2 separate regions of the Homo sapiens genome follow, and region 1 is linked to region 2. Evidence: promoter capture Hi-C in 16 types of primary human blood cells and fetal thymus (Javierre and others, 2016). All regions are on one chromosome and are shown on one strand. The core of a region is centred on a gene start or on the middle of the fragment in contact, and the rest is flanking DNA. Distances in the headings are between cores, read along the strand shown.

What was found. The method cuts DNA at HindIII sites, captures the fragments that hold promoters and counts their contacts. A CHiCAGO score of 5 or more calls a contact.
Region 1: the fragment with the promoter of TNFRSF1A here is called in contact with a fragment that was not itself captured in region 2 in 5 of 17 cell types (naive CD8 T cells, total CD4 T cells, neutrophils and 2 more); the score reaches 7.5 in naive CD8 T cells.

What each region holds. Positions count from the first base shown.
Region 1 is chr12:6,339,814-6,343,767 of GRCh38, reverse strand. It overlaps TNFRSF1A (TNF receptor superfamily member 1A), which reads left to right and starts at 1,692. Exons shown (of 10, transcript NM_001065.4): 1 at 1,692-1,992. The coding sequence starts at 1,954. RefSeq lists an enhancer at 1,790-1,889. The HindIII fragment of the contact is 11,725 bases long and covers 1-3,954 here.
Region 2 is chr12:7,109,503-7,113,131 of GRCh38, reverse strand. It overlaps C1RL-AS1 (C1RL antisense RNA 1), which reads right to left. Exons shown (of 12, transcript NR_026947.1): 3 at 2,985-3,068; 4 at 2,560-2,834; 5 at 1,526-2,107; 6 at 1,068-1,125. Among named protein-coding and RNA genes, the nearest start is that of C1RL, 2.1 kb to the right of the region's middle. The HindIII fragment of the contact is 2,030 bases long and covers 1,331-3,360 here.

The DNA of each region.
Region 1 (3,954 bases), core at 443-2,942, 770 kb after region 2:
TGGACTTGGGGCTGGGAGGTCATCTCAGAGGGATAAGGGGTGAGGAGCTCTGGTTTCAAGTTCCAAAGCCCTAGGACCTCCCTCTTCTCTGTCTGCCTGCATTTCTAGCAGCCTCAGCAGCTGCAGGCCCTTGGGCGGGGCTGGATGTAGGGAAGGTCATTGTACCAAGAAGATAGTTGGGTAAATGTGGTACCTTTGTTGTAGGATTCTCTTGGGAGATGTCTGCATCAATGAGGATGGCATAAAGTAACCAGAGTCAGGATGTGGGGTCTGACTCAGTGACAGAAAAAGTGGCAGTGTGTCTCTCATAGCCAAAGGGGCCCTTGGACCGGCAGTCGGGAGTCTGGGGTTCTCTGTTGGCTCTGCCTCCTGGCACATTGGGTTTCTGGACCTCAGTTTTCTCCTCTATAAAACCGGGCAGTTGGGTGGGCACGGTGGCTCACACCTGTAATCCTAGCACTTTAGGAGGCTGAGGTGGGCAGATCATTTGGGCCCAGGAGTTCAAGACCTGCCTGTGTAACATGGTGAGACCCTGTCTCTACAAAAAATACAAAAATTACCCAGGCGTGGTGGTATGCACCTATAGTCCCAGCTGCTTGGGAGGCTGAGGTGGGAGGATTACTTGAACCTGGGAGGTCGAGGCTGCAGTGAGCTGCGATGGTACCACTGCACTCCAGCCTGGGAAACGGAGCGGACCCTCAAAACAAAAACAAAAATGAAAAACAAGCAAACGAAGAAATAAAAAAACCTAGGGGGTTGTAGTCGATGATCTGTAAGGTGAGTTATAATTGATGTATTGGAATATTTAGGAAAAGGGCACTGGGAATATGCTAGGAACACCTGATGGAGGTATCTTTATTTCCACGGCAGCTTCGTGGATACGTCTCATTGATTCTCATGGCATCACTTTCCCCATGTAGGTGGGCAGACATTGTTACCCCTGTTTAATAAACAAGGAACCAACAGAGGCTTAGGAGAGGAGTTGCCTGATGTCGCATGATTGGTGGCAGAGCCAGGATCAACAGTGGGGCAGGGTGGGGGGACCTGGCCAGGCAGAGACTGGATGAGACCTGGGGTGAGGAATGGCAGGCACCCAGTCAGGGCAGAAAACGAGGGTTGGGACTTACTTTGAGTTTTGGATTGGATCAGTAAATTCCCAAGAAAGAGGGAGACTAGGAGGCTAGTGAAGAACTCTGGAGTAAAGGGGAGGATTACTAAGGGACATGGAGTACCTATCATGTGTCGGACGCTTATCTATATCTCTCCCATCTGAACAAATCCTTACAGGAACCCCAGGAGACAGGTTATCTCCACTCTGCAAATTGGAAAACAGATCCAGACAGTTTCAGTTATGTGTCTGAGAAGTTCATTTATGTGTCCAAGACACATTCTTAGCTAAAAAGCTAAGCATTCTGAATTGGAACCCAGAGAATTTGACTCCCAGACTCTGGATCTTTTCACTGCTGTGATCCATCTGGGAAAGGCTAGTGATGTGGGCAAGGGGCTTATTGCCCCTTGGTGTTTGGTTGGGAGTGGTCGGATTGGTGGGTTGGGGGCACAAGGCAGCCAGATCTGGGACTCCTGTGCTTGTGACTGGACTACAAAGAGTTAAAGAACGTTGGGCCTCCTCCTCCCGCCTCCTGTGGCCTCCTCCTCCAGCTCTTCCTGTCCCGCTGTTGCAACACTGCCTCACTCTTCCCCTCCCACCTTCTCTCCCCTCCTCTCTGCTTTAATTTTCTCAGAATTCTCTGGACTGAGGCTCCAGTTCTGGCCTTTGGGGTTCAAGATCACTGGGACCAGGCCGTGATCTCTATGCCCGAGTCTCAACCCTCAACTGTCACCCCAAGGCACTTGGGACGTCCTGGACAGACCGAGTCCCGGGAAGCCCCAGCACTGCCGCTGCCACACTGCCCTGAGCCCAAATGGGGGAGTGAGAGGCCATAGCTGTCTGGCATGGGCCTCTCCACCGTGCCTGACCTGCTGCTGCCACTGGTGAGACCAGGGACAAAGGGAAGAGTGGGCTGGTGGGCGAGGCACCTTCCGGCTGGCGTGGGCCCTCTCCGGGAGGGGGCCGAGCCTCTCCTGCCCGGGCCTGGTCCTGGCGCCAGCCTCAGGCCTGCAGGTCCTAACCTCAGCCACTGCCAGTGTGGGGTTCCCCATTCATCCGCCTTTTGGAGTAGGGGCTGCGCTGAGGCAGGGGAATGGGAGAAGTTTGAAAGGGAGAGAGTAAAAGGAAGCCCTGGCCCCTGACAGCGGTGGAAGTTTGTGGGCGGCCAAGGGAATGTGGGCAGGAGATAGGCCCAGGGTGGGGCAGATTTGGCGGGGAAAAGAAGGGAGTGGGAGTAGGAAGATTAGTGCTCGGGGAGTCCAGACGGTTCTGAATTCTGTCCCTCCGGTCAGCTGGCTGGCCTGGAGGGTGTTGGGCCGTGGGGAGGCGAGGCTGCCTGTGGAACTTGGTGGAGCACACCCTGTAGGGCAGGATTTTGGCGGCTGGTGAAGTGGGGGAGTGAGTTGAGGAGTGGGGATGGGCTGGTGTGGTGGGTTTGGGATGCTCATGGTGGGAGGTATTTGAGAATGGGCTGGGACACTGGATGGGGCAGGGCAACCCAGTGGACAGTGTCCCCAGTGCCCTGGCCAAGCCCCGGCCTCTCACCTGGGGACATTCTTTACCCTTTTGCCTGCTGCTAGGCAGGTAGCCGCTGTGGGACTGAGCCTTCCCAGGGAGCTAGTCCTACCCCCACCTGGTCAGTGTCCCTGGGCCTGTCCTCCAGCTTCCCCTCCCCGCTGCTTCTCACAGACCTAAACAACAATCCCTTGGTTTCTTATTCTACAGTTCAGTTTGGGGAAGTTGGTAGAAAGTTGTTTTCGTCACTGGAAAATGTCCCTTTCTCTGGCCTCAGCCTTGTTTCAATGTATCCTTGATCGTCCTCCACGTCTTGGTCCGGGAATCATCCTGTTCAGATGTCCTGGGCCCATCTAGTCAGGCAGATTTTCCCTGCCCTGCCCGGCCTCTGAAGGCTGCGCCTACCTCCCCTCTCTTTAGTGCCTTATACTCTTCCTCTCCTACCATTCCTTTCTTCCAGCAATCTCCCCAGACTCTCCTCAGACTTCTCAGAGCCTCTTTTTTTGAAATCTTTTCTCGCTAATCCTCCTTCCCCTCCTCTCTGCTCCGCTCTGGTCCCGGCCCCAGGTCCCCAGGCAGCACGTCTCTGGTCAGGGTCTCACTCTTCTTCTTCTGCCTCCTCCTGCCTCCTTAGTCCCACCCGCTCTTCCCTTCTTCCCACTGTCCTTCCCCCACGGTCTCCCCACCAGCCAGCTGCCCTGACATCCTGCTTCTGTTTTCTGTTTGGGGGCGGCCCCTGGCTCCCTCACATACCTCCTGCATGAACAAGAGCAGCTTATATAACCTAACCTTCCATGCCTTCGTTTCTTTATCTCCAAAATGGGTGTCACAGTCTTGACCTCATACTGTTGTTTTGAAGATTGAATAGACTGATACATGTTAAGTGTTCATTTGATTTATTAAGTGTGCGCTCTGGGCTAGACACTGTGATAGGTGCTGGGATTACAGCAGAGAACAAAATCCCTGCCCACAGCTTTGACAGTCCATCAGGGGAATAGGTTGTAGCAAATAGAAAGCACTCAATAAAGTTTTTATATTGCTGTGACTAGTAGTAATTACTGGGTGGCTACCTGTGTTGGGAAAACAGAGGGTAAAGGTAGCCTGAACAGGTAAAGGGAAGTGCCTGCGTCCTGGGGTGCTTCAGCCCAGGTGGGATTATGTCTCCTAAGGGACAGAAGCCTGGCCTGGAGCTGGAGGAAAGGGAAAACAAAGGGAATGCAACATCCTTCTGAATTTCTCACCATTCAGTGGGCAATGCAGAGCTCACAGTGTGTGTGTGTGTGTGTGTGTGTGTGTGTGTGTGAGAGAGAGAGAGAGAGAGAGAGAGAAGT
Region 2 (3,629 bases), core at 1,096-3,595:
TAGATTTTTCTCACGGGTGCTTTCTATATTTGTAAACATAGTATCCTTACAATTTGGTAGCTTGCTACCTTTACTTAGCATGCCAGGAATCCCAGCTCCCTTACCTGCACTTGGGGGCCTTAACATAGAGCAGAGGTGGCCTATGCTCTTTAGGGACACTTGGGTAAGGGAAAGGGAACTGAAGTAAATGATTGAAGTGTTAGCAATAAGGTGACCAACTGTCCTGGCGTGTCGGGGAACTTAACTGGTTTTAGTGTTGAAAACCTCATGTCCTAGGAAAACCTCATTTCTAGACAGACCAGGATGATTTCTAATAGGTTACCCTATTAGAAAAAAGTCCCCCCAAATTCAGACATCCATTTTCATTTCTACATCGGCCTTTCAGCTATACTTCTTTGCTTTTTTCTACTAGTAGTCACCCTAGGGCAACTGTTCTCAAACTTTATACCCTTAAAAAATTATTGAGAACTCCAGAGAGCTTTGGCTTATGTAGGGTATATCTATTAATAGTCACTGTACTAGAAATCAAAATTGAGAACATTTTAAATCACAAAGATACACAAGCACGCATCCCGCTCACTGCCACGGATGAATCATTGCACATCACGTAGCCTCTGTAAATCCACCATATACCATGACAGAATGAGAGGGAAAAAAGCAAAGAACATCTGAGTATTTTTATGAAAGTCATTTTGTTACCTCACAGACCCCGTGAAAGGATCTTAGGGCCTGTGGGTCTTCCCACACCACAGGGTGGAGACCCGCTGCTCTGGGAATTAGTCTGCATCCTAAACTCCAGTTTTCTCAGTTCCTATTGTACCACTTCATGTGAAATGAAGGAAACTTGTAACCATGAGTCCACCCCCTTGTCCTCTATACCAGCAGTCCCCACCCTTTTTGGCACAAGGGACTGGCTTCATGGAAAACGGTTTTTCCACAAACCAGGGATGGGGCCAGAGGGAGATGGTTTCAGGATAGTTCAAACACATTACATTCATTGCATGTTTTCTTTCTATTATTATTGTTATTGTAATATATAATGAAATATTAATAATTATACAACTCACCGTAATGTAGAATCAGTGGGAGCCCTGAGCTTGTTTTCTTGCAACTAGACGGTCCCATCTAGGGGTGATAGGAGACAGTGACAGGTCACCAGGCATTAGATTCTCATAAGGAGCACACAGCCTAGATCCCTCCATGCATAGTTCACAATAGGGTTCGTGCCCCTATGAGAATCTAATGCTGCTGCTGCTGCTGCTGCTGACAGAAGACGAAGTTCAGATGGTAATGTGAGTGATGGGAAGCAGCTACAAATACAGATGAAGCTTTGCTTGCTCACCACCACTCACCTCCAATACTGGTCCACGGCTCAGGGGTTGGGGACCCCTGCTTTATACTACAGTCTTCATATATGTTACAGCTACATATGTTATAAACCTCACAATACAATGTTATAATTTTTGCCTGGAACAGTTCTACATATTTTAAAGACATTAAAAAGAAAATCGTATTTTATATTTACCTTCAAATTTACCGTTCTTCTTATTCCTGTCTGCAGCTCTGCTCTTCCAATTTGAGACAGCGTCTCACTCTGTCACCCAAGCTGGAGTGCAGTGGCACCGTCATGGCTCACTGCAGCCTCCATCTTCCGAGCTCAAGCAATCCTCCCACCTTGGCCTCCCAAAATGCTGGGATTATAGGCGTGAGCTATCGTGCCCGTCCTAAAGAACTTTCTTTAGCGCTTCTCATAGTGGAGGTCTGCTGGCGACAAGAATCTCTGTTTTCTTTTATCTGAAAATAGCTTTATTTCATCTTCATTCTGGAAGAATACTTTCACTAGAAAAACAATTCTGAGTTGACTTTTTTTTTCCTTCAGCATTTTAGAGATATTCCACTGTCTTCTGGTCTATATTGGTTTTGATGAGAAAAGAGTGACATTGAAAATATTGTTCTGTCTAGTCTTTAGGATGGGATTAAAAAAAAGAAAAGATTTTCTCTTGTCTTTGGCTTTTAGCAGTTTGACCATGATGTGCCAAGGCATGCCCTTTTTTTCATTGACCACTCTGCCAGTTAGAGACGAGGTCCCAGTGTAGGGGAGGTGGTGCTGAAAACACAGCGGGGCACAGCTCAGCCCTAGCCCACAGGGGCCTGCAGTGACCAGCTATGCACAGAGCCATCAGCTCCTTCTCCAGTCTCACATCACCAGCCATTCCTCCCCTTGCCCTTGACCCTAACTCATGCTGCAGCCGCACACGCCACCTAGGTGAGACCAAGGTGGGCCCTCATCTTCAGAGTGCTGGATTACCCCAAACAGGGACCACATCCAGACCCTGGACTGCCCAGTCACCTGGGGCTGCCGGTGCATCACTGCCTCCCCACCCTCTTGGCTCCCTGTCCTCTTTCTCACCCAGCCTCACTCCAGCACTTTAACCCCTATCCATTTAGGGTGACCACCAGTCCTGGCTTGCCCAGAACTTCCCTCATTTTAAAACGGAAAGCCTCATGTCCTGGGAAACCCGTCGGTCCCACGCAAATCAGAACAGTCGGTCACCCTACCTGTCCTGGAGTTTCCTTCCAAGGCCTTACTCCTCCCTCCTCCAGCTCATCTCCAGGAAAGTCTTCTCAGATGGGCTAGCCTGAGTTTTCCAGTTCCTGCCCCTCTTAGCAAACAAGGAAATAATGCTCTGAAGGGAAACGAGGGGTGGACTCCCCAATCCTGATCTGAGTCTTGGCTGGTTTCTTCTTAACACATGGGTCTTGGGATTGGTACCATTGTTCACTCTTTGGCTGCATCTCTGGCTCCCAAGGTGCTCCAGGTGACCCTAAGAGTTCTATGAGAGAGCAGGTTTCAGTGGTCTCAGGGGAGGAAAGAAGTCCTAGTCAGAGAGGCCCACTCCTCGAAGATGGGTATGGGAGATCATCCCCAGTTGTGTTTGGGGTTGGGGTGTGGCAGACAGGTAGGCTTGATCTCAAGACTGTACCTGAGACATTGCATCTGTCCTGGCCATCACTCTCTTATCATCTCCTTGTAGCCATAGACTGTGGCTCTCCTAAATCTCTCTAGCCTAGAAAAACCAAAGATGCAGAGCACACCCTGTTTGGGTCTGTAACTTGCCTCCATATTACTATATGCAAAATGGGGGAAGCAATAGATTCTTCTCTGAGAGGTGTGTGTGCGCGCGCACATGCATTTGTGTGTGCATACAACGTAAGGCCTTCCACACACCTGCCTTCTCTGAGGATGGGACCACCCATCTCCATAAGAGCCTTCTGGCCTCCTACCAAGCTGTGGGTGAGTGTCCTTCCTCGGGGAGCGGTGAGAGCAGGCAGGGGCTCTAGTATCTGCCTAAAGAAGCTTGAGTGACGGCTTGAGTGATGACTGGGACTAGGGACTGAGGGACACCTGGGCTCGACCCCAGCCCTGACCATGCTGGACAAGCAGCCTCCAGAGGTTGTGAATAGGATTCAAAAGACCACCTAAGCGCATGTCCCCCACCCCTGCTTGGGGAGGAGGGAAAGGAAGAGAAAGCTCAAGTTCAAGGATCACAAACTTCAATTCTACAAGAGGGAGGCTCCCCGGGTATGTCGTGAACGGAAAGGTCGGGGAGGAAGAGACATGGCTGATT